7 separate regions of the Homo sapiens genome follow, and regions 1, 2, 3, 4, 5 and 6 are each linked to region 7. Evidence: promoter capture Hi-C in 16 types of primary human blood cells and fetal thymus (Javierre and others, 2016). All regions are on one chromosome and are shown on one strand. Each heading gives the region's core, a stretch centred on a gene start or on the middle of the fragment in contact. The rest is flanking DNA. Distances are from core to core; before and after follow the strand shown. Region 1 overlaps DNAJC24 (DnaJ heat shock protein family (Hsp40) member C24). Region 2 overlaps IMMP1L (inner mitochondrial membrane peptidase subunit 1). Region 3 overlaps DCDC1 (doublecortin domain containing 1). Region 4 overlaps IMMP1L (inner mitochondrial membrane peptidase subunit 1). Region 5 overlaps ELP4 (elongator acetyltransferase complex subunit 4). Region 6 overlaps IMMP1L (inner mitochondrial membrane peptidase subunit 1). Region 7 holds the start of PAX6-AS1 (PAX6 antisense RNA 1).

Region 1 (3,523 bases), core at 721-3,220, 410 kb before region 7:
AAATTACTTAGATCATACAGTTATAGGTGTGAAGTCATTTCAGAGTAATAAAATAGCACTTTACTGAAATTTTGGAAATAGATGTCTTTGTATAATAAAGAATCACACAGATACTATCACTCTCAGTATTTCTAATATTGTGACATATTTATGGTATTTTAATTTTGGATGCATTTTGGCTTTCTACTCAACAATGCTTAGCCTTTTAAAATGTTTTGAAGTTATTAGAGTTGGCAAATGTGCTTGAAAGTAATAAAACAATTTCCATAAACTAGTGTGTAATTCAAGCTTTTCACTAATTCATGTTAGTTTTTCCATTAATTTTTTGGTTTTCTGTTGTACTTGTTTTTCTATTAATGGAAGAAATTCCTTATTTTTCCTTTATGGCTTAGAAAGATTTGCTAAATTCCTTTTTAAAAATTTAGACATGTCTGAAGATGTTTTTCTGTTGATATTGTCAACATAAAATGAAAAATGCACAGATCTTAAGTGTTAAGTTTGGTGAGTTTGATATCATGTAAATACCACCCCAAATAAGATATAGCACATTTCTGTGCCTCCAGCAAGTTCCCTCATGCCCCTCTTTCTTAATTTCCACTACCTGTTCTCACCTGGAAACCAACTTTTTGGTTTCTGTCGCCACAGATTAAATGTACCTAAATTGGGATTTCATGTTCATGTAATCATACAGTATGTACTTTTTGTTCTTGCTTCTTTTACTTAACATATATTTTAGATACTCATTTGTGTTATTGAGTGTGTCATAATTTGTTCTTTTTTAATTGTTGAGGAATATTTCTCTTCTATGGATTTAAATAAAATGTATTTACCTATTCTGCAGTTGATAGACATTTATGGTTCCAGTGTTTTAGTAAGACTGTTATGAATAAGACTGTTAATCTATTCTTCTATGAATCTTTTCGTGGATGTGTGATTTTCATTTTTATTGATCATGGAGTAAATGTATATGTAACTTTATAAGCAATTGCCAAATTGTTTCCTGTCAGCAGTATATGAGAATTCTGGTTATTTCATATCTTATCAACACTTGGTGTTATCAGCATTTTTTTTTCTTTTTCTTTTTTTTTTTTTTGAGACAGAGGCTTGCTGTGTCATTTAGGCTGGAGTGCAGTGGCATCATCTCCGCTCACTGCAACCTCTACCTCCCCAGTTTAAGCAATTCTTGTGCCTCGCCTCCTGGGTAGCTGGGACTACTGGTGCGTGCCACCACACCTGGCTAATTTTTGTATTTTTAGTAAAACTGGGTTTCACCATGGTGGTCAGGCTAGTCTCAAACTCCTGACCTCAGGTGATCTGCCCACCTTGGCCTCCCAAAGTGCTGGGATTACAGGCATGAGCCACCACCACACCCAGCCAGTCATTTTTATTTTAGCCATTCTTTTAGATATGTAGTAATATCTCATTGTGATTTTAATTTGCATTTTCCTAATAACTAATAAAAAGTTTATTTCCTAATAACTAATAAAAAAGTTCATGTGCACACTGTCTGTTCATCAGTTTTCTTTGAAAAAGTATCTGTTCAATTTTATTCATCTGGTTTTTAATTAGTTTTGTCTTTTTATCATTGATTTATAGGTTTTATTCATGTATTCTGATACAAGTCCTTTGTTAGAAATATATGCAGCCAGTATTTTCTCTCAGTCTGTGGCTTGTTTATTCATTTCCTTAGTGGTATCTTTGATGAGCAGAAGGTTTTAAAATTTGATGAAGTTCAGTTTATCAGTTTTGTGTTACACAGTTTATGCTTTTTATTTTCTGTCAAAGCACTGTGTGCCTACCCTAAGAGGCAAAGATATTCTCTTGTTGCCTTTATGGATTACTTTTATGTGTATGATTCATTCTGAATTAAGTTTGGTTTATGGAATTAGAAGGATTGAGGTTATTTTTTCTCCCACAGGGATATCCAGTTGTTTCGAAACAATTTGTTATATACTTACCTTTCCTCATTGAATTGCTGTGGCAGCCTTGTTGAAACTCAGTTGACCATATATGTATGGTCTGTTTCTAGGCTATCTTTATGCTAGTACTACAGTCTTGATTACTGCTGAAATTTTGATAGGGATTGTATTAATATATCAGTTTGTCCATTTTCCCTAAACTGATATATTAATTAATGCTTTAGATTACATCTGTCTTTTATTTGATAGGTGAATGAATGAAGTGGGACTAGCTTTGGGCTCTCAAGAGTAGGAAGGTCTTTGGCTAGTGGGGATTAAAAGAAATTAAGGGCAAGAAAAAAAATAAGACTTGACAACAGAAGGAAAATGACTGTGGTCTTTTAGGATCATAATGAGTCGACCTCCCACAGGATAGGTCAGATTTAGAAATAGTAGGAACAAAATTAACATAGACTTTGAGATCGGAAAGTCTTTAAACCTAGGATTAGGGGCTTGTTTTCCCATTGGCAATAGAGAAAAATACCATATTTTTAAGAATGTGTGTAATGACACCATTTTATGAGTAGCCCTTGTAATTGAAACTTCTTAAAACATTCTAGTGTCTTGCATTCCAATTTTAAATCATAAATATATTTGGACTGGGTTTTAATTTCTCATAGCAGTAAAAACAAACTGTCAGAAACTTGGGTGGTTTCAAATATTTATTCTTTTATAGTTCTGGAGAAGTCCAAAATAATTATAACTGGGCTGAGTTCAAAGTGTTGGCAGCGCTGCACTCCCTCTGGAGGATCTGGTGGAGAATCCATTGCTTGTCTTTTCCAGCTTCTGGAGGCTGCAGGCATTCCTTGGCTTGTGGCCACTTCACTCCAGTCTTCAAGGGCAGCATTTCAGATCTCTCTCTCTCCACTGTCTTCACATCACCGTCTCTTCTGTGTGTCAGCTCTTTCTCTGCCTCTTTCTTCTAAGAACACTTTGAATACATTTAGAGCCCAACCAGATAATCCAGCAAAATCTTCCCATTTCATGAACTACAACGTAATCATATCTGTGAACTCCCATTTTCCAAATAAAGTAACATTTACAGGTACCAGATATTGGGACTTTATATATTTGGGGGCCATTATCAGCCTACCACAGACAGTTACTCCTTTTCTTAGACCTTCACTTTGCTCTGCAAGTTGCTGTCAAAACACATTGGACCAAGGCTTTAAGCATCCCAAATGATATACTTATTTTCTTGCTATAAGTGTCATTTTTTAATGGAATGTACCCATTAAATAAATGTCATGGAATCTGAATAGACTTAAAGCCTCAGATGGCGAGCACCTTATTTCAATTAATAATCAGGAAAATACCAAATTAGGGAAAGAGATTGAATTGTACTTTGACTATCATAGAACTGATTTGTGACTCATAATAAAATTTAATAATATTTTTTAGTTTAGGGCAGCCAGGAATTAATTCCTGGTTTTATAGGGCTTTCTGGGTCAGATTGGTGCATGATCAGGCCTAACCTCTTCTATTCATTGTACCAAGCAGACTTCCTATATTGGCCCATGACAAATTACCTACCTTTTGATCTTTACTCCTACTTTATAGATACA
Region 2 (3,604 bases), core at 940-3,439, 340 kb before region 7:
AAGAGCTGTTCAGTAAATACCTGAATAAAAAGTAAAAAAGTAAATACTGACCAGGTTTAGTAAAACCTTCCAGACAAATTCTGTTTTGAATGCAAAACTACTTTTAAAAATAAATATATAATACTACAAGCTACCATAGAAAGTTATGCTGAGATAATAGCCTACCTGGCAAAATAATGTGAAATTACACATAAACCAAATATTTTAGATTTAAAATAAGTAATTTTATTATGAGGGTAAGAAAAAGATTTTAGTCCACTTATTTACTTCATGGATAGCTTTTTTCATCATAATAAAATAAAAATTTTTCCAAACAGCAAACATACAAATAGAAGGCAAAAGTCGTCCTTTATAAAAGTAACACAATGCAGTTTACTGGAAATATTGGCAAGCTTTCTCATTTATTCATTCAAAATGTGGTAAAAGTTTGGAAATACAATTTGAAATACAGTAGCTTGGAACCAGTTAAACCAAACCCGGGAACTCTGTATAAATTTATTATATTTGCTGACTTTTCTAGTAAAGACTTTATATGGAAAAGAATAAAAGATACTACACATAAACAGAGGTGGTAGTACATTAATGGTGTGCATCAGGTATAAAATTGATTATATTTTAATTATTTTTATAATTTCAAGAAAATACTTTAGTCACCTATATTTAGTTAAAATGTTAAAGTTTAAAAACATTTAGACTGAGGCTGTATAATTTATTTTTTAAAAGATACAGCTACTAAACAAAAGAGCTATGAGATAAAATCCAAGTTCTATGAATAAATATTTTAAAATTAAGTACTCTAAGATCATAACACTGACAACACTAATTATCTTTTCTAGTCTTGGCAGTTACGTTGCATACTGTTTGGGTGACTGATGGGATAATTTCACTTCATTTTCTCTCAGTTTATATTGGATCGTGTTAGAAAAAAATATTAAAATAATTAACACCTCCAGCCAAAGTACTTGATAAAGTTTTTAGTTGAAATAAAAGCTAACAAAATCAATTAACTAACTCACTGATTTTTAAGCACACAACTAAACCTCCATCTAAAGGAAAAGTTACTAAGAATCACTGATTTTTAAAAATAAGTCATTCAGTATTCCTATTTACTCTATACTTTTATATATTAAAATCATATATTTCACCAAAAGCCCTTTCATCAGCAGTTTCAGCTAGCATTACCTTCATTACAAAAAATATAGGTGTCTATATATTTCAAATTATGTTTTATTCACCAAAAACATTTCATCAGTAGCAACTGAAGCAGTCAAAAACAGGTAAAACATATGACGAAACATATTATTTCAATTCCTTACAGCTAGACATTTTGATTAATTTCATAGTGGCTCTATAGCCAAAAGAATATAAAAGTATTTAAATTAATATTTGATCTGAAATATGAATTGTTACCAATAGTAAATAATTTGCCATTCAATTAAAAAAACCAAGACATCATTGATCAACTTTTCTATTTCAATAGCTTAATAAATTTTGAATCATATAGCTTAGTTTGTATATGTCTTGCATAATTTTAAGTCATATAGCTTAACATAAGGTTACATATTATAAATAATAAAGAGCATATTCTTTGCCTTGATGACCTGATTTTTTGTTGTTGTTGTTTATAAAATTAATCACAGTTAGCAGGGCAGAAATAGCTTTGAGCTTCATGAATGACATCCAAGAGATGGGAAAGGATTAGTTCTCAGTTGCTGCCAGTTATAGCGCCAGGTGGCTTTTTCTGCAGTGAAGGTGTTACCGATAATCCCATTACACTGGTACTAAATCTTGCAGACATCAAAATTATCACCAAGGTTCCTTTTCATCCCATCCTTTCCAAATGACTGGAAGTCGCTTCACCTGAAAGAAGTCAAATCCACATGCAGCTGCTGTTTTAGCCGGCAGCAAACTCCCTGAGAATGTCAGTCGTGATTCAGTTTTGCTGTGCTGGTTGGCCCCCTATTCCCTGTCCAATAATACATCTGTTAAAAAATCCTACAGCTACAAATCAAGTTTAATCCTACCAGGGACCTCATGTTGGTCTTGTCTTCCAAAAAGGCAGCAGATTCTGCTGTCTATCTCTGCTAGTATCTGGGGAATACCCTTTAAATCCCAGCCCTACTTAGAAGAATAAGCTAAGGATCACAAAACATGACCTCAAAAACCCTGATATGACTATATTCTGACCCAGAGGCATTCATTCTAGGTGAAGATTAGAACTTTGCATAATAAGATTACACAGCAAGTGAATGATATCAGGGGACTATCCATATGCAGCCGCCTGGTTTTGTATAGACAGCCTGTGCTCTGCAATATGCAGTGCAGACGAAAAAGAGCTTGGTCTTTCTAGCTGAAATAAAATAGATTCACATAAATTAGTTGGCCATTTCCAGATTTCTAAATCCCCTATTACATCTTTTATTGACAGCTCCTGTGAGGATAGCACAAATGTTATTCTTTTTTATTCTGTGCTTCTATAACAATCATGCTCTGTAATTGAAATGTACATAGATTATGTCTAGAAATTAACATCTTGTTTGCTGTAATCTTGGATTACAATTGACTGTGTACATAATAAAATTAGGAAATCAATGGACGGATTTATCATCTCCAAGAAACTAGAGGTATTGTTTAAAGAATAGTTTAACATTTTGTGCCAACACTTTAAATGCAGGAGTCACAGGGAGTAGTCAATAAAAATGTGAGTCCAAGAATACAGCAGGCATTGGCTAATAACTAAAAATGATATTACATAAAATTAGGTCATAGCCCTCGAAATTTAGAAAATGTGAAAAACTCAGAGATTTCATAAATATGGTTTTCTCTAACTCATACTTGTGCAAAGTCAATTATGTATGACCATTTTAAATAAAATATGTATGCCTACAGTATTTTATATAAATTTCCTTGATCATTTTATAACTATACTTTAAAATATTTGAATCAAGTCAAATAAATTGTAATTCAAGGTTTTATAATTCTTAACTATATGTTTTTAAAATAGTTATCAGTGAAGAAATCTCTCCTCACATTTAAATATGTACAGAACATTTTAAATGTATAGAATTCTAGAGAAATTAGGAAAATGATATTTTATAATCAGCTTCTTCCACCCATGACATAACAGCTATACCAGCTTATCTAAGCAAATTTATATGAAAAGACTGATTCATATACATTTACACAAACATCTGTCCAGAATAAATCTAAGGATGTGAAGACGTTGTAAGTTTTATATAAAAAAAAAGTACTAAGATTTGCGATGGAATTCTTGTAAAACTAAACTCCTAAGTATACTTGCAATATGGCTTACTTGACAAGTTTGATTTGCCGACAATTTTTGAGGAACACTCCACATTTATTACATTAGTCATTATCACGTCATCATCACAATCTCTTTAAACATATCTGTACAATGTCTGATAAGTACTCAAAAGTCAGGTGACACAATTGGATTTTATGTATCACACAGAAAGATATAAACCAATGGTATTAGTGCTATAAAAAACTTTATGTAATTTCAACTACATAGCACATGAATATTCTTTGGTTACCTTGACTAGGATATTACTAGAAAAATCAGAAATGTAAAAAGTACATATTT
Region 3 (3,324 bases), core at 362-2,861, 480 kb before region 7:
TGCCAATTGTCTGCCAATATCCATTCCTTGTTCCTTCTACAAAACTAGAATCCCTGATTTTTAACTGAGACATATGGCTGCCTAAAATAAAGACTGTATTTTCCAGTTTTCCTTGTAGCTGGGCAGGACCATATGAACATGTTATGGCCAATGGCATGTTAGTGGAGATGGTCCATGCAAGTGAGTGTACCCTTCTTTTTCCTTCCTTCTGCTACCTAGAATGAAAACAATGGCTAGTCCTGGATTGGTCATCTTTAACTTTGATGAGATGCTGAAAATGAAAGCCAGGACTGAGGGAAGATTGAAGGAGTCTGAACCTCTGACAACATGGAGTACCATACCAACCCTGGACTATCTACCTCCAGACTTTTACATGAGTAAGAAACACCTAGTTTGTTCAAAACAGTATTAATTTGGATCTTTGTTACTTGCAGTTAAACCTAATCCTGAAATACCTGACATTCTCTTGAAGTAAATTGCTTTCAAAAACCTAAAATACATGGTATTTACTTAGAGCAAAGAAATAAGGATAACACTAGAATGGCTTAAAATATAAATTTAACTCAGAGTCTAGTAATTTGGGACTTTGGGCCTTGCAGGGTTGAAGAATTCAACTGTTTGTGTATCCCAAACTGAAACTATAAAAAGTAGCACTCTACAGTGATTGCTACATAAGATGAGACTGTGGTTCTAAGCTTTTTAACAACACTTTTCTTTAAGAATTCTTCCCTGGTTGGGTGTGATGGCTCACGCCTGTAATCCCGACACTGTGGGAGGCTGAAGAGGAAGGACTGCTTGAGTCCGGGAGTTTGAGACCAGTCTGGAAAACACAGTGAGACCCTGACTCTACAAAAAGTAACTTAACTGGGTATGATTGCACACACCTCTAGTCCTAGCTACTTGGGAGGCTGAGGCAGGAAGATTGCTTGAGCCCAGGAGATTGAGGCTGCAGTGAGCCATGATCATGCCCCTGCACTCCTGCCTGGGTGAGTGAGACCCTGTCTCAATCAATCAATCAATCAATCAATCAAACTAGCCTAGCTGTCAAAGATCAGATTAAGGTTGCTGTTTTTCAACCCAAGCTTATTGTGTTAGGTGACCTCAAAGGAATCATCTTTATGTTGAAGCACAGAGTCAGGGAATAAAAAACCAGTACTCAGGCTTAAAAATAATGTCTAGACGTGATCTTTGGCTGTGAACATGGGATTAGCTATAGACTGGAAGTCTACTAATTTAGGGGAAGAGGAAGGAGCAGTGTTAAATTACTGAAGAAACCACAAAGCTGGCCGAAAAACATGACTGACCTGTATTCAAATCTCATGCCCACATTTGTATCAGCAGGAAGCAGGCTGCAGATCTGTTCAGCACTCCAGAACAGCAAATTCTCCATTGACCACATCAGATGTGGTCAGGAAGTACAATGTACAAGGAAGACCCTTTCCAAAAGGCAGAATTAGGAGTACTCTGATGAACTAATCAAGGAAATTGCTCCATTGCTAGAGAAAGGAACTTTTACAATTCCTACCTAGCCTAGCAGAATTGATAACCACTATAAACCAGTGACTCTTGTGTTAATCCTATTCTCCTCCTTTCCAAATATACATCCATTCTGTTAGGTGTGATGTGGCAAATGCATTAACTTTTAGTTTATAGGTTACTAGACCACCTGGACTTAATGAAAAGGACAGTGCATTAACCCAACAGCCTAGATTCTGAGCCATATTCAAATGGATCATATTTGGGGGTTCACATACATAATTAAAAGCTAGAACAGGCATGTATGATCAAGAATAGGTGGTTATGTTCTATCTACAGGAAGAAGGGCGTACCAAAGATATTTTGGTGGCTAAAAGGTTGGATTGTGGAGTAAACTGTTAGATGTTCACTAGAATCTCTTCCCTTTTACAGTGTCTAGCTGAAGCCTTTTTTCCATCTACATGTTGCCACTTGACCACATGACTAAATTCTGGTCAGCAGAATGTAAGCAGAAGTGGCATATGTGATTTCTGGGAACTGTCACCAAAGAAGGGGGTATGGGGCATAATTTTCAGCCTTCTTTTCTTCCTTCCTGATATCTGGAATGTGATCATGGCTTAAAGCTGGAATAGCCATGAATGCACCATCTGTGACTTTGGGAATGGAAGCTTCTCACAGCACAGCAACAAAATAGAAGATCTTAGAGCATTATACTAGCCCTCCAGACTTTTATATGAGTAAGAAATAAGCCTTTTTTTCTTACCCGTCCTCAATGTAAACTTTACATTGTAAGTAAGAAATAAACTTTTATATGAGTAAGAAATAAACCTCTTTTTCTTACCCATCCTCAATGTAAACTTTTCTTAACATCTTGTACATGCTATTTATTTCCAGTCTCTAGACCTTTGCTCACACTGCTCCTACACTGTTGATGATTTAGAAACTAGAAGCCAACTTGGTATAATGAAATAGACTTCTTTTTTCCATTTCCCAAAGTTCATGTTTAAGTCAGTTGGTTGCCTGAAATTAAGAATGAATTTTCCTATGTGCTATGGTTGGAATGTTTGTGGCCACCCTCCACCCCCTGCCAAATTTCTAAGTTGAAACTTAATCCCCAATGTGATGTTATTATGAGGCAGAGCCTTTAGGGAGGCAATTAAGTCATAAGGGTGGACTCTTTTTACAACGCAAGGGCACATTATCAATAAGGAAGCAGGCACTCACCAGACACTGCTGGTGCCTTGATCTTAGACATCCTAGCTTCCAGAACTGTGAGGAATAAATTTCTATTGTTTGTATACGATTCAGCCTAAGGTATTTTGTTATGGCAGCCCAGAATAAGATACTATGGAAACAAATGTATACATTGATCAGTTTCCTTGCCTCATTCAATATATGCTAGTAATACCTGAATTAACTCTCCAATAATATTATAGTTAAAAAAAATTTTATGAGAGCTGAGACTAGTCTGTCCTGTTCACTTTGCATTCATAGTGCTTAATTCAGTGTCTAGGACATAGTAGGTATGCAATAAATATTTATAAAAGAAATATGGGAAATTGTACTTCAGATGCCAAGAACACATTTGTTCACAGCAGCAACATTGTAATCACAGAAGAAAGGATTCCTTACAGGACTAAAGTAGATAGTTTTGACAAATTTTCAATGTTAATTCTTTCTATCTAAACTAGCCAAATAATTTATCATCCAAACTGGGCCTGTCTCAGGCAAATCAAGTGTCTAGACTGCACCTATCTATATTTAAATAGCCTCCTTTTTAAATGAAAAGGTACTATCCTATGTCTCTGTGGTTGCATATGTACCCATGGGACTCACCAAAGATTTACT
Region 4 (3,408 bases), core at 616-3,115, 320 kb before region 7:
CCTTGGCCTCCCAAAGTGCTGGGATTACAGGCGTGAGCCACCGCGACCAGCCCAAATTTTCCAAACTTTTATGCTCTGTTTCCTCTTGAATACTTCACTGCTTAGAAATTTCTTCCACCAGATACCCTAAATCATTTCTTTCAAGTTCAAAGTTCCACGGATCTCCAGGGCAGTGGCAAAATGCCACCAGTCTCTTTGCTAAAGCATAGCAGAGTTACCTTTGCTCCAGTTCCTAGTAAGTTGCTCATCTCCATCTGAGACCACCTCAGCCTGGACTTCATTGTCCATATCACTATCAGCATTTTGGTCAAAGCCATTCAACAAGTCTCCAAGAAGTTCCAAACTTTCCCACATCTTCGTGTCTTCTGAGCCTTCCAAGTCTCTAGGAAGTTCCAAACTTTCCTACATTTTCCTGTCTTCTTCTGAGCCCTCCAAACTGTTCCAACCTCTGCCTGTTACCCTGTTCCAAAGTCAATTCCACATTTTCAGGTATCCTTATAGCAGTGCCCCTCTCCCTCAGTACCAATTTACTGTATTAGTCCATTCTCATGCTAGCCTCAGGCATGCACAAAGAACTGCCTGAGACTGGATAATTTATAAAGAAAAGAGGTTTAGTTGACTCACAGTTCTGCAGGGCTGGGAAGGCCTCGGGAAACTTACACTCATGGCGAAAGGACTTACACGCTGATTTCAAATGTTGATATTATTATTTTAAGCCCTGAGTCAAAATTTAGTACAAAGTTATAGTAAGCAAAAACGTGGTACTGGCATAATGACAGATCTATAGACCAATGGAATAGAATAAAGAGCACAGAAATAGCATTGACATAAATGGTCAAATGATTTTTGACAAGGGTGCCAAGACCATTCAATGGGGAAAAGGCAGTCTTTTCAACACATGGTATTGAGAAAACTAGATATCAACATAAAAAAGAATGAAGTTGGACTTTTGTCTTACACCATATAAAATTAACTCAAAATAGATCAAAAACCTAAATGGAAGAGCTAAAACTACACAACTCTTGATTGGCCATGATTCATTGAATATGGCAACAAAAACAAAGGTCACAAAAGAAATAAAAATATATAAACTAGACTTTCTCAAATTAAAAACTTTTGAGCAACAAAAAATACTATCACAAGGAGAAAGTATTTGCATATCATACATCTAATTAAGGGTCACGGTCCAGAATATATAAAGAACTCCTATAACTCAAAAACCCGCAAAAAAAAAAAAAACAAAGCCATTACTCAATTCAAAACCGGCAAAGGTTTTCAAAAGACATCTCTCCAGACAAGGTATACAAATGGCCAATAAGCACATGAAAAGATGTTAAACATCCCTAGTCATTAGGGAAATGCATATCAAAACCACAATAAGATATCACATCATATGCATTAGGATGACTATTATCAAAAAAACAGAAAATAACAAATGTTGCTAAGGATGTGGTGAAATTGTAACCCTTCCGCACTCCTGGTGGGAATGCAAAATGGTACAGCCAATGTGGAAAACAGTTTGGTGATACCTTAAAAAGTTAATCATAGAATTTTCATATAATCCAGCAATTCCATTGTATGGTATATACCCAAAGGAAATGAAAACAGAGATTCAAACAGATACTTCTATGCCAATGTTCACTGTAGCACTATTTACAATAGCCAAAGGTAGAAACAACCCAAGAGTCTATCAACAGATGAATGGATAAACAAACTGTGATATATGTGTGTGTGTGTGTGTGTGTATATTATAAATATGTTATCTTATATATATGTTATAACTTTTTAAAATTTTATTATTATTATACTTTAAATTTTAGGGTACATCCTAATGCTAAATGATGTTAATATGTTATAATTTACATATGTAATCTGATATAGGATAATCATATATTATAATAGATAATCCTATATATAACATATATTATACATTATATAATCTATAATTTTATATATCTAAGAGTATATTATATAATCTTATATATATCTGATATATATGATCTTATATCATATATAATACAATCTTATATATTATATACAATGATATATCATCTATTACGTATATCATATATATCATCTATTATATATGATAATCTTATATCATATACTATAATCTTATATAAGATTGCACATGTTACATATATGTATTACATATTATATATATATACACACACAGATGGTCCCTGACTTAGCAATGGTTTCACTTATGATTTTCAACCTTATAATGGGTTTATCAGGGTATTAAATACATTTTCAACTTATGGTATTTTCAACTTAAATTGGGTTTATCAGGACATAACTCCATCATAAGTCAAAGAGCATCTGCAATAGATTATTCAGCCATAAAAAAATGAAGTTTTAATATATGATACAAAATACATGAACTTTGAAAAACATTATGCTAAGTGAAAAATATTATGCAAATATTAACAAGAATATAGTATGATTCCACTTATATGAGGTGCTTATAATAAGTTGGCAAATTCACTGAGAGTAGAATACAGGTTATTAGTGGTTGAAACAAGAGAGAATAACAAGTTACTGCTTCTTGGGTACAATATTTCTTTTCTTTTTTTTTTTTTTTTTTTGAGATGGGAGTCTCGCTCTGTCGCCAGACTGGAGTGCAGTGGTGCGATCTCCGCTCACCGCAACCTCCGCCTCCTGGGTTCAAGCAATTCTCCTGCCTCAGCCTCCCAAGTAGCTGGGACTAGAGGCACGCGCTACCACGCCCAGCTAATTTTTCTATTTTTAGTAGAGACGGGGTTTCAGCATGTTAGCCAGTATGGTCTCGATCTCTTGACCTCGTGATCCGCCTGCCAAAGTGTTGGGATTACAGGCGTGAGCCACTGCACCCGGCGGGGTACAATATTTCTTCTTGAATGATGAAAAAGTTTTAGAAATAGTGGCAATGATTACACAACATTGTAAGTACTCTTAATGTGACTTCACTTATACTTAAAAATGATGAAAGTAGTGAATTTTATGTTACGTATATTTTTATCACACATACACAAATTTTTTTAAAGGGCTCAAAACCTTGAGCCAGTTCAGAGGGCAGACACAAATACTTCAGTTAGAAAATCAAAACTGGGCTACTGATAAGTAGTAAAGTGAACATATTCCAATGCTCAGTGAGAGAAAAACGATCGTCATGTATGATGATAATCTATTAATTTTCATGTGAGTTGATTTAGGAAATGTTAATAGAAAAAACATAATTTGCTTTATATTCTTAAAAAATCCAACCTTAGAATACCAAATGGACTATAAAATTATTTTCAAATCTTTAATTTTGACTAATGGAAAAATTGTAATACCAAATGACCTTTAATGTTATTCTTTGAACCTTTCACTTTGGGAAATAAAAAATATAATAAGCAGAACTATAAAATTAAAATTCTAAAGGTT
Region 5 (3,294 bases), core at 344-2,843, 300 kb before region 7:
AATTACTGTTCATTAAGATGGTAGAAACAGTATTGGTTGTTGAATACTTTGAAATATATTTTGCATGTATGCAGTGAATTCTCAAAGTGCACAAAAGTTGAAGAGGTTATAATAGAATTGACTACATCTTGAAAAATAAATATGTCCAGAAGTATTTTAGTTTTAACCTCTTAATGACATTTTTGTATCTGATTTTCTGTATAAGCAGTTTAGACTATGTTATTACTTGAAAATGTTATTTGACTCAAGTTGCGACAAGCCTAATATGACTATATTGTGACAAAAGGTAATGATAATAGGATGTTATGGTGTTAGAACGGTAAAACTATACTGTAATATTGTGATTATTGCCTGAATATATTATGTGGTTACTGTGTAACAAGTAAATATTATAGCTTCCGTGTAGTACGGTGACATTTTACTACTGCCACCGTGACGTCATTGTAATTTTAAACATGGATGCAAAATATATTTGAAAGGCATCATACATGCTAATTGTTAGTCATTTGATGATACACTGATAATTCCATTACTTATTCCAAAGCATTTCATGAATTTGAAAATTTTCAATATCTGCATTTTTCAAATGACCTAATATATAATGTTTTTGTTCTGACAACCTAATTGTATTATGAGATATTGATATACATTTCCCAAGTTAGCTACATTAAAATTGTTTAAATTCCCAGATTATCTAACCCATGTTCTCAACCTTGCCCTTCTGGGATATTTATATTGTTATTTGAGGACACTGTATGTAAATAACACTTATATTTTGGAAAAGGAAAGATAGATATTCCATCGATTGAAGAGGTACTCCATTTCTCTTCCAGGGGTTTCCAAAGAAAGATTATAGCAACTAAAGAATTCTGGCAGAAATGCCCCCTGCCCTCCGCCCCCCCTCCCCCGCCCCGCCCACCCAACCCCATTCCCTGTAAAAGGTATATACTCCATCATAGAACCATATATCTAACCTGGAAGAATTAACCACAACTTCATCCTCCAGAAAAATGCTTAAAGGAAGGGTAACTGCAGATTTGACCTCTGTGCTGTTAAATTTTGATAGTGAAGGGAATGTCAGATAGGGATTTGAGGTAAATAATAGTCTAGGAAGAGTACCCTGAAAGAAGCTTAATGGTAACAGCCATTTTTTAACATTGATGTCAAAAAGTAAACACTAGTGGGCTTATTTCCTTTATTATGTTAATGTGTAGCATGGGATAATATACATTGAGCTTGGACTACATATTTAACACAATCTTGGTTATGATATTTTACCAACCAATATAATTAGCTGTATATTTAAGAAAAATGTATTTTTTATTGCTATGTAAAATTATTTCATGTGACTTAATCTATAGAACTATTCACAGTTCCTAGCTTTATTTTGATTCTCATGTTTGTCCAGCTAATAATTGTGTCATAATGAAGAGTAGTCACTATGTTTTATAATGCTTGGGGAAGAAAAAGTAGAGTTGTTATCAAAATAACTGCAATTAAATTTGAGATCCAGCATTAATTAAGTAGTTAAGGCTATTACTATGAACCAAGGAAAGAATATGAACTTGTTTTTTACATTGCATTTTCCCAGAAATACTTTTTTGTAATTTTAAGCAAAATTATTCCTTTATATAGAGGTCTGGAAAGGACTGGCATAAATCACTGTTATCTTTCTTGACTTTCATTTCTTTTCCCTTTTACTTTCTCTAACATTGAAGAAAGGCTTTCATATTCTAGTGTATTAATTTGACCTCATTTACCCAAAATGTATAGCTTAGTCAGAGGTTTCTATTGGGGAGAGTATGGGGATTGAATGTTGTTCCTTTAAAATATTAATAGTACTAATGTAATTGTCTTACTACTGCATGAATTGAAATAACAACAAAAGCCCTTTCGTTGTCTTATGATTTTGAAAATCGTGGAAGATACTGGCATTTGCAAGATCTTAAATTTTCTAATATTATTTCTTAAGTATTAAATATCTTTTCTGGTTTTAAGAAAAAATGCCTATTTTTAAAATATGTGAAATCTTGATGAAATTAATTGTCTAAAATATCAAGCTTGCTGAGTATCTTTAACCTTTCAAACCTTTATTTTGATTCTCATGTTTGCCCAGCCAATAATTGTGTCATAATTATTGAAGAGTAGTCATGATTCTTTAACCTTTCAACCTCTTGTATTCTTTTGTGTACATAAAGTACTCTACTTTTATTTTTAGTAAGATGGAAATAAGTATACATCTTAAAGACATCTAGAAGTAAAAACAAGAGTTTATTTGCTGGCCAGGTGTGGTAGCTCACACTTATAATCCCAGCACTTTGGGAAGCCAAGATGGGTGGATTGCTTGAGCCTGGGAGTTTGAGACAAGCCTGGGCAACATAGAGAGACCCTGGCTCTTCAGAAAATACAAAAATCACCCAAGCTTGGTGGTGCACACCTGTAGTCCCAGCTACTCAGGAGGCTGATGGGGGAGAAGCCCTGAGCCTGGGGAGTTCAAGTCTGCAGTGAGCAGTGATCACACCACTATACTCCAGCCTGGGTGACAGTGAGACCCCATCTCAAAAAAAGAAGAATTTATTTTGCTTAGTGACTTAGAAAGTGTGTTGGTAATTTTTCTAAGTTAGGATGAAAGGGGAGAGGAAATAGTAAACAAGGCCGTTTTACTACTTTCTTGCCTGTTTTCATTATAAAAATAAGATGATTGTTTGCTTACCCTATTACTTATCTGTAATACATTGTATTGGGAAAAGATATTTCAGTTTTAATTGGTAACTATTAGTGTGAGGTCTATGTTGCTTTTGGAATTAGATAAAATTACTAATGGATTACTAAATTTAAAAGTAAATTAAAAGCCAGCCTTCAAAGAATATGTCAGGATACTCTGTTGTGATTGGTTGGTTGTTTTAGCTTTTTATTTATTTATTTTTTGGTTGGAGCATGGCTACAAACATTCAAACTTTTAAGTTAAAATACAGCTAGACCTTCCATTTATCAAGTAAGAGACATCAAAATACCTTATACAAAGGTATCTTGTGGAAATGTTTTGAGATCATGTCTCACTAAACTCAAGTTTAGAAGAATAGAGAAATTTTGCTGCTGTATGCATGTGTGTGTGTGTGTGTGTGTGTGTGTGTGTGTATATATATATATATATATATATGTATAGGTCCAAATTATTCCTCTTAAAACACATAGAGTAAAAGCTTGATTTTTAAAAGCTTTAGTTAATAAGTTTAAATTAGTTAATGAGTTACATCTTATTCCCCACAACTATCCTTCACAGTGACCAAACTT
Region 6 (3,443 bases), core at 876-3,375, 360 kb before region 7:
ATTATTACTAAGATGTTTATGCAGGGTTTTAAAAGTAACTAAAATACATGAAATATAACGGCTGAATTGTTCTTGATATAAACATTTAAATTCTACTGGATGCCCTTTTTTCTTACATTCAAAATATGAATAAACATTATTTTCTTTTGTCAGCACTCAGTTAATGTTAATCAATTATGACACCAAAAATAACATAATTGAAATGTTACTTACATAACTATGGCTTTTAAAGAAATCTGATGGACTAGTGGTGAGGATTTTGTCTCCTTCCAAACCAATTACTCTTTTACAAATATTTGATTTTGGATCACTTGGGCTTTTTGCAATCACAATGTCACCTCTGAGGGGGAAAAGTCAAAGAAATGTCTGTATTATTTATTAAGCAAAAACACATGCATGGCACTGCTTTAATACTTTTATAAGACAACTTAAACAAAGCCATAACCTTTATCCTCTCATATACTTACTCTTCCACACATTTACTGGCTTTGAGAACCTTTGTGACTGAATACTTTAGGTGAGAATCCAACAATAAGAGTGATAAAAAGGCTATCTAAAATTTCTGATAATTTCAGAAGATTCTAAACTTTCAGATAATTCTACAAGAATTATCTTTTGCATTGTATCCAGTATGCTTTACTCCTGTGTCCAAATTCTTAGAACCAAAATTGTGGAAAAACAATTCTACATAGGCCGGGTACAGTGGCTCACAACTATAATCTCAGCACTTTGGGAGGCTACGGCAAGAGGATTGCTTGAAGCCAGGAGTTCACGGTTGCAGTGAGGCTAAGATCGTGCCACCATGGGCAACAGACTGAGACCATGTCTCCAAAAAAAAAAAAAAAAAAAAAAAAAAACCACACACACAAAACAAACAAACCAAGAAAAACCCCAAGTGAACCAAAAAAAGAAAAAAAAACCCTCCACACAATTCTATATAAATACTAACAAATTAAGTAAATAAATATTGCGGTCCAGCCAGTAGCACTGATTGACTCTAGAGCACACTAAAAAGGTAAAAGCATCATCCATGTTTCCCTAGAACTCAAATAATTGAGGAATGATAGCATGTAAGTCCTATAACCCATATCAAAAGAACTTATATTTGAGAAAAAAAATCAAAAGATACAACAAAATAAAATGCTAAAAGCTGCCTAAATATACACTCTGAAAAATAAAATGAGATATCAAACATATAAAACCAATAAGGGTCTGATTACATACAGAAGTCATGATTTATGGAAGAACTGACAATCTATCTGGTAATAAAAAATAAGAAAGATCCTAAAAAGTGAAAAGGAAGAAAGATAGAACGTAGGACTAATGACCACAGTCAAACAGAACACAATACTCTTTCTGCATAAAACGAGCAATATGTGAATTCTGTTGACTAACACACGTTTAAAAGGATTTAACATATTTGCTTATTAATTGTACCTAGTTCCAGAAATAGTTTAATGAAGCATATGTCAAAATAATATTAAAAGTCATAAGAATAAAAGGAAAATTATGAAGAAATCAGAAACCTAATAACTGCTCTATAGAAGCATTAAAATGGGTTCTAAACTCTTTGGGAGCCAAGTCAGAAGAAATTAAGACCAGTTACATGGAAATCATTAATTAATAAAATAACATTTAGCTTGGGAGGTAAGACAAAATTTTCCCTAACAACTAAATCAAAGAGAAATTCACAAGAAACTTTCTTATATAAGAGAATAAAAGATACCATCTTTATCAGAAATTTTACACAGAGTGCAGAAATAGTATTTACAATGATGATCTCTTGAGGCTATTCTTGGTAAGAGTTGAAAGGTAGCAAATCGTTACATTCTATAATTTGGAGGCAACACAGTGTTGCCTTCTTTTGAAAACAGAATAAAGGTATTTTCTTTCTAACCAACTAGAACCATGTCAGTGGATCTGTTCAGATGAACAAATTTGCAAAGATTGTAACACGCCATCAAAGTTGATTTTGGGTAGCTTTGGAGGAAGAGACGTTTTTCCATGGGTGTCTAATGAAGCTTAAGTTCTTTGATCAAATAATCAATATGACCCTTAAAACAAACTTTGCACTCGAATGGCAACATAGAAATCATAATTCAGTCGTGCTGTTTTGTAGAAAGTAGTATAAATAAACTTTATTTCTGGTAGTCTAACTAGATATATGCATAGCGTTTAGATCAAAATACATATCGGCTGGATTCTTAACTCCTTCAAATAGTTTTAAAAGGAAGCTTATTAAAAATTTTCTCATTTATATTTATAAACATCCTTATTATTCTACTACACAGTAAGCTTTTGAAAACTAGTGTCAATTATCTCATTAATCTTAACATTCTCTATAATGTATGGTACATCTTATAAATTAGGTGCTCACTACTATTTGTTGAAAGAATAAGCAATAGTAAAAATCTGACTGTCTCAAGGTTGAGTGTTCTGTGCAGTTGACTGAAGAGACATCCATGTGCTTTAGATACTAGATATGCAAACTTTTATTCTTGCCTAAATGGAAGGTTATTTTACATTTAGAAACAGGCAGCTAACAACAGGACACCTTGCCAGGGGTCAAAGATTCCCCTGAAATCTTGAGTTCTGTGCTGTGGGTAAAAGAAAGAGAATACTCAGGACAGTAATATTTCTTAAGTAAAAGTTACCAGCTGGCTATCTTGGCTCTAAAAGTTACTTTGGTATATCTCATAAATGCCAGATTTTGAGCTGTCCTGTAACCTGGATGAATAGGGTACAAAATAAGATCTTCAAAGAATCTGAATTCATTTACTGAATGTAGTTATTTGTTTCACTTATCTGAATGCAACGAGTAATTTTTTTAAAAATATCAAGCTGTGTATTCAAAAACTATTCAGCCAACAAGTTCATCTCCTCATTCAGGATGCCCAAGGATTATTGTGAATAAAATTATGTCACTGGCATGGAACACAGATGCTTGGTTTCATGCTACAGTGGGGCTAGGTCTCCAGTTAATTCAAAGGCTATATAAGGATAATTTGATATAAGTTAAAAAGAAAAGGGAGCAACAACACAATCTATTATATAAGTTTTATTTTATAATTCCTGTATCTACAATTAAGTATATAGAAGTTGTTATGGGTAAAAGATTTGAAGAAGAATTACCTAGGGAGCATGCCAAACCATACAGGTTGACCAAGAGAGTTTCTATCTGCAGAATCTAAGGCTGGTGAAAGATCAGTAAATGTGAAGAAATGTATTCTTAACAATTTTCAGTAATGTGAAATAGGTTATAGCAAAGGTGAATAGTGAAAGAGAAGTGCCTAAACCTACTTAATATGCCATAAACTAAACACTAGCTCAAGGGAATCAAATCTGTAGTTTACTGAAATGAAAGCAGGCATAGATTTTTTTCAGAATTATAAAAAACAAATGGACTCAAAATTTTAGGGTATCAGAGAGGTGCTCTTTAGAAA
Region 7 (3,406 bases), core at 903-3,402:
AAGTGCCTCCAGCTCCCAGCTTCAGAACCAAGAGCCTCCCATCCGGAGTTCTGACAGTTCTGACACCTCCAAACTCTCTCTTTCCCCGGTCAAGCAGAGGCGCAGCGCCGGCGCGCTGGAAAGGGTGAAGACTGGCATTTTTTGGAGAAGGAAAGTCTTGGCAGACACCTGCGTCACTTTGTAGTGCCCCAAACGTCTCTCTTTTTGCAGACCCTGGGAAGGTGGGATCCCTTGTCCGCGGAGCTGGCAAACGGGTCCAGTGAGCCCTAAAGGCAAAGGCTCCCATCCCGGCCGCCCAGTCCCTGGTGCCTCCCCCACTTCCAGGCCTTTGTCCCTCTCCTTTCTCCAGCAACCTGCCGGTTCCCGCTAACCCGGCAGCCTCGCCGAGCCCAGAGCCTAGAAAAGCCAAGAAGATCCCAGAGCCGCCCCGTGGCACCTTCAGGCTGTGGCCACTGCTCGGCTTGGGGGGAAGCCGCGGTGCCCTCGCCCTTCCTCGCCTCCTGCCAAATGGCCAGTGCTAGGGGCTCCCTGGGTTCAGTCCTCAGTCCTCTTCCGTTCGCTCTGGGAGGCCAGCCTGTCTCTCTCTCTCTCTCTCTCTCTCTCTCTCTCTCTCTCTTTCTCTCTCTGTCTTCTCCCTGCCCACCCCCAAAATACCTTTAAAATAACATTGTCCAGTGGAGTCTCCCAGCAAAGGGATTCCTAGCAGCCCAGCGGGTCAGACTCCCAAGGCTTTGCCTCCCAGTCCCTCCATGCTGTTGTCCAGATAGGAGTTAGGTTTAAAACTCCTGACATGTAGGACAACTGAAATCAGCGGCACTCTCCGATTTTTGCAAATAGGGTTCCTAGAAAAGTTTGCTTTCCATTTCATCACCCTGTGACGATCCCCCCATCTCTCTTTTCCCTGTAACCTCTGCCCCCAAGAGGCAAGAGTTCAGCTTCAAAGGAAAAGCAAGCAAGTCAAGGCCACCTCAGTCCCTTCTCCCTGGATATCCCCTCTCTAAACCGCTGCCTATTCTAAAGGCCAACGACCCGGTCCTGCGATTTGTCCCGTTGTAGACCTGGGAACAGGCAGGCGGGAACTGGGGGCTTTACTGGGGGATTTGAGGCTGGGGAGGGGGAGGGAGCAAATGTCATGGCTGGCTCGCTCAAGCATCCAGGGAACCGAAGCTAAGCGCATCCTGACGGGCTTTTAAAATGACATTGATTAGGACAAGCTGTTCCCAACCCCAGTAAGAGTTAATCTGCCTGTTAATCAAGGCACTAAGGGGCTCAATGCGAGTTTTATTAGCGACAGGAGAACAGAGGCGGCAGCCAGGGATCAAAAGCCGGGATCCCATATATTTGTCAGCGCTATCTCCAAAAAAAAAAAAAAAAGTATTTTCAATTTGAAAACAATTCGGCGCTTTTCGTCACTTCCTAACCCAGTCTCACAGAGGGTGACTTCCAAACCTGGCTAGCGGGGAAAACCGCTGCCCGGGGGACAGAGGGGCTGACAGGAACTGCGGGTTGGCTCAGCCGAATGCGGCCGGGGAGAATTTAAGAATTCTCAGCCCGCGCGGCCCGATGCCTCTGATTCCTCACGAGAGGAAAGGGAATGAAAAATGAAGCAACAAATGACACCACCCAGGCTGGCAGCCCTCGTTCCCGGCCAGACCCCGCTCCTCAGGCCCGGCTCTGGCGCCGGGTGGCGTCCAGCCCCTGCACGCGCGGCGCGGCCCGCGGGAAAGTTTGTGCAGCGAGAGTGACTGTCCTTCCGCCTCGCGCGCGCTGCCCCCTTCTGCCCCGGAGGGGCGTTGGGTTCCCTTCGGTTTTCCTTTCCAATTCTAAAATAAATAAATAAACTCCGGGCCCTGGGGAAATCTGAATAGTAATTCCAGTCATCCAAATTCTATGAGAGGGTCTGAGGAAAAAAAGACAAGCCTATCACGGGCGCCCTCCGATCACGAAGGGCACGGGCATGAGAAGGCGACAGAGGAGGTCCTCGGCTCGCCCTGGGCGCGGAGCGAGGACTCTGGTCAGAGGTAATTATGTCACCGCGTTTTCTCGCCGTGACAGCCGAATAAACACGATCTCCAATAAACATCTCTAATGAGGGAGGAGGCCCGAGGATGGCTGGGTTTGATTTATGACTGGAGGAGAAGGTCCACTTCCCACTGCGAAGCAGGCGACCTGCTCGCCGCCCAGCTCCAGGGAGAGGAACCCGCGGAGGAGAGGATCCCGGCCCAGGTAAGGCGTGCGGCCGGACTGCCACTGCGCTCGTCCCCCGTTTCCAGGTGAGGTGAGCAGGGGGCGCCACCGCTCGGAGTCGGGCGGAGGTCCCAACACCTGTCACAGGTGACTGAGCTCCGAAGGTGCTCCCAGAAGACCTAGAAAGGGGGCGCAGGAGCGCGAGTGGGAGTGGGGGTTGGGGGCTAGCCGGGGCCTGGCCCAGAGGCCGCCCCAAACTCCCGGGCGGGGTTCTTGGGTGCCCCGCCTAAGCCGGCCTGGGCGTCTCCAGCTGCTTTTAGGGCCGGGCTCCCAGGACTTTCGCCCGGCTGAACCACAAGTTAGTCTAAGTTTGGGTCGTCCCTTCCCTGACTCACTAAGGGGACACTTCCGGGCCCCGGCTCTGGCCCTCCAAGGGCCGCAGGGTGGTGGGCGCTTCTCTTTCCCGGGCTTGGCGGCCCGGCTCCCATGGCGCCCGCGCGCTTCCCGCCGAGGCAGCCAGCGCAGCGCCCGCAGTAACCGGAGCCCGCGTTCTAGCTCAGTGAGAATCGCTAATTATTAGGTCTTCCGAAGTGAAGCTCAAATCACACGCTGGGAGCTTTACGCGCTGCCCAGCTCTGTCGGCCGCATTCTTTCGTACTCCGCGTCTTTCTGAGAAACGAACCCCATCTCTAGACTTTGTTGCGGTCCAGCCATCTGCACTTTGCAACCGCGGGAAACTTCTGCTGCACCTCGCCCGACCCGCGGCAGGGTGTCTTTAAGCGCTCCAGGCGCGGGTACGGACTTTCCCAAGCGTGGATGTCGTGAACTGCGATGCAGAGGAGGTCTGGATGCAAAGTGCGTCCCCACCTCCTGCATTTTTCGCGGTCGCGAGTGGCTTTAGCAGACAGCAGCAGCAGACTCCCGCCCCCTACTCCCAGCTCAGGGCCGGACTGGAAGTCCACTCTTAGGAGTGGAACATTTTGCTACTTTTGCAGAAGAGCACACTCGGCAAAGACAAGTCCCTCCTCCACCCCCCTTCCTATCCCTCCCTCAGTAACTCGCTTCCATCTTTGTATGCCTCCTTTTAAAAGCAAAAATCAAGCCCCGGGGCCACTTGGGGCGGGCTTTGATTTGGGGACAGCAGTCGCTGGCAGCGGAGAGGCCCCGCGGGCCCCGAGCCGGGCCGGGGCCGGAGCCCGGGCGGTTACCTGGGAGCGGA

Evidence for each region. Contacts are between HindIII fragments. The CHiCAGO score rates a contact against its expected background, and 5 or more counts as called.
Region 1: a fragment that was not itself captured here is called in contact with the fragment with the promoter of PAX6-AS1 in region 7 in 2 of 17 cell types (megakaryocytes and M2 macrophages); the score reaches 6.1 in megakaryocytes.
Region 2: a fragment that was not itself captured here is called in contact with the fragment with the promoter of PAX6-AS1 in region 7 in 1 of 17 cell types (erythroblasts); the score reaches 6.1 in erythroblasts.
Region 3: a contact is called between a fragment that was not itself captured here and the fragment with the promoter of PAX6-AS1 in region 7, in 1 of 17 cell types (megakaryocytes). The highest score is 7.2, in megakaryocytes.
Region 4: a fragment that was not itself captured here is called in contact with the fragment with the promoter of PAX6-AS1 in region 7 in 1 of 17 cell types (megakaryocytes); the score reaches 5.8 in megakaryocytes.
Region 5: a contact is called between a fragment that was not itself captured here and the fragment with the promoter of PAX6-AS1 in region 7, in 4 of 17 cell types (megakaryocytes, endothelial precursors, erythroblasts and 1 more). The highest score is 8.4, in megakaryocytes.
Region 6: a contact is called between a fragment that was not itself captured here and the fragment with the promoter of PAX6-AS1 in region 7, in 1 of 17 cell types (megakaryocytes). The highest score is 6.8, in megakaryocytes.

Annotation. Positions count from the first base shown.
Region 1 is chr11:31,408,810-31,412,332 of GRCh38, forward strand. All of the region lies in intron 2 of DNAJC24 (DnaJ heat shock protein family (Hsp40) member C24), which reads left to right. Among named protein-coding and RNA genes, the nearest start is that of DNAJC24, 41 kb to the left of the region's middle. The HindIII fragment of the contact is 3,368 bases long and covers 287-3,523 here.
Region 2 is chr11:31,475,900-31,479,503 of GRCh38, forward strand. All of the region lies in intron 1 of IMMP1L (inner mitochondrial membrane peptidase subunit 1), which reads right to left. Among named protein-coding and RNA genes, the nearest start is that of IMMP1L, 32 kb to the right of the region's middle. RefSeq lists an enhancer at 1,424-2,994. The HindIII fragment of the contact is 3,598 bases long and covers 391-3,604 here.
Region 3 is chr11:31,336,656-31,339,979 of GRCh38, forward strand. All of the region lies in intron 1 of DCDC1 (doublecortin domain containing 1), which reads right to left. Among named protein-coding and RNA genes, the nearest start is that of DCDC1, 31 kb to the right of the region's middle. The HindIII fragment of the contact is 1,062 bases long and covers 1,081-2,142 here.
Region 4 is chr11:31,494,892-31,498,299 of GRCh38, forward strand. All of the region lies in intron 1 of IMMP1L (inner mitochondrial membrane peptidase subunit 1), which reads right to left. Among named protein-coding and RNA genes, the nearest start is that of IMMP1L, 13 kb to the right of the region's middle. The HindIII fragment of the contact is 8,362 bases long and covers 1-3,408 here.
Region 5 is chr11:31,511,897-31,515,190 of GRCh38, forward strand. All of the region lies in intron 1 of ELP4 (elongator acetyltransferase complex subunit 4), which reads left to right. Among named protein-coding and RNA genes, the nearest start is that of ELP4, 3.8 kb to the left of the region's middle. The HindIII fragment of the contact is 930 bases long and covers 1,129-2,058 here.
Region 6 is chr11:31,456,047-31,459,489 of GRCh38, forward strand. IMMP1L (inner mitochondrial membrane peptidase subunit 1) reads right to left here. Exons shown (of 6, transcript NM_001304274.2): 4 at 214-340. Among named protein-coding and RNA genes, the nearest start is that of IMMP1L, 52 kb to the right of the region's middle. The HindIII fragment of the contact is 213 bases long and covers 2,020-2,232 here.
Region 7 is chr11:31,814,414-31,817,819 of GRCh38, forward strand. PAX6-AS1 (PAX6 antisense RNA 1) reads left to right here and starts at 2,153. Exons shown (of 3, transcript NR_033971.1): 1 at 2,153-2,226. It also overlaps a transcript of PAX6 not described here. RefSeq lists a silencer at 1-218, an enhancer at 1,182-1,943 and a promoter at 3,390-3,406. The HindIII fragment of the contact is 5,434 bases long and covers 1-3,406 here.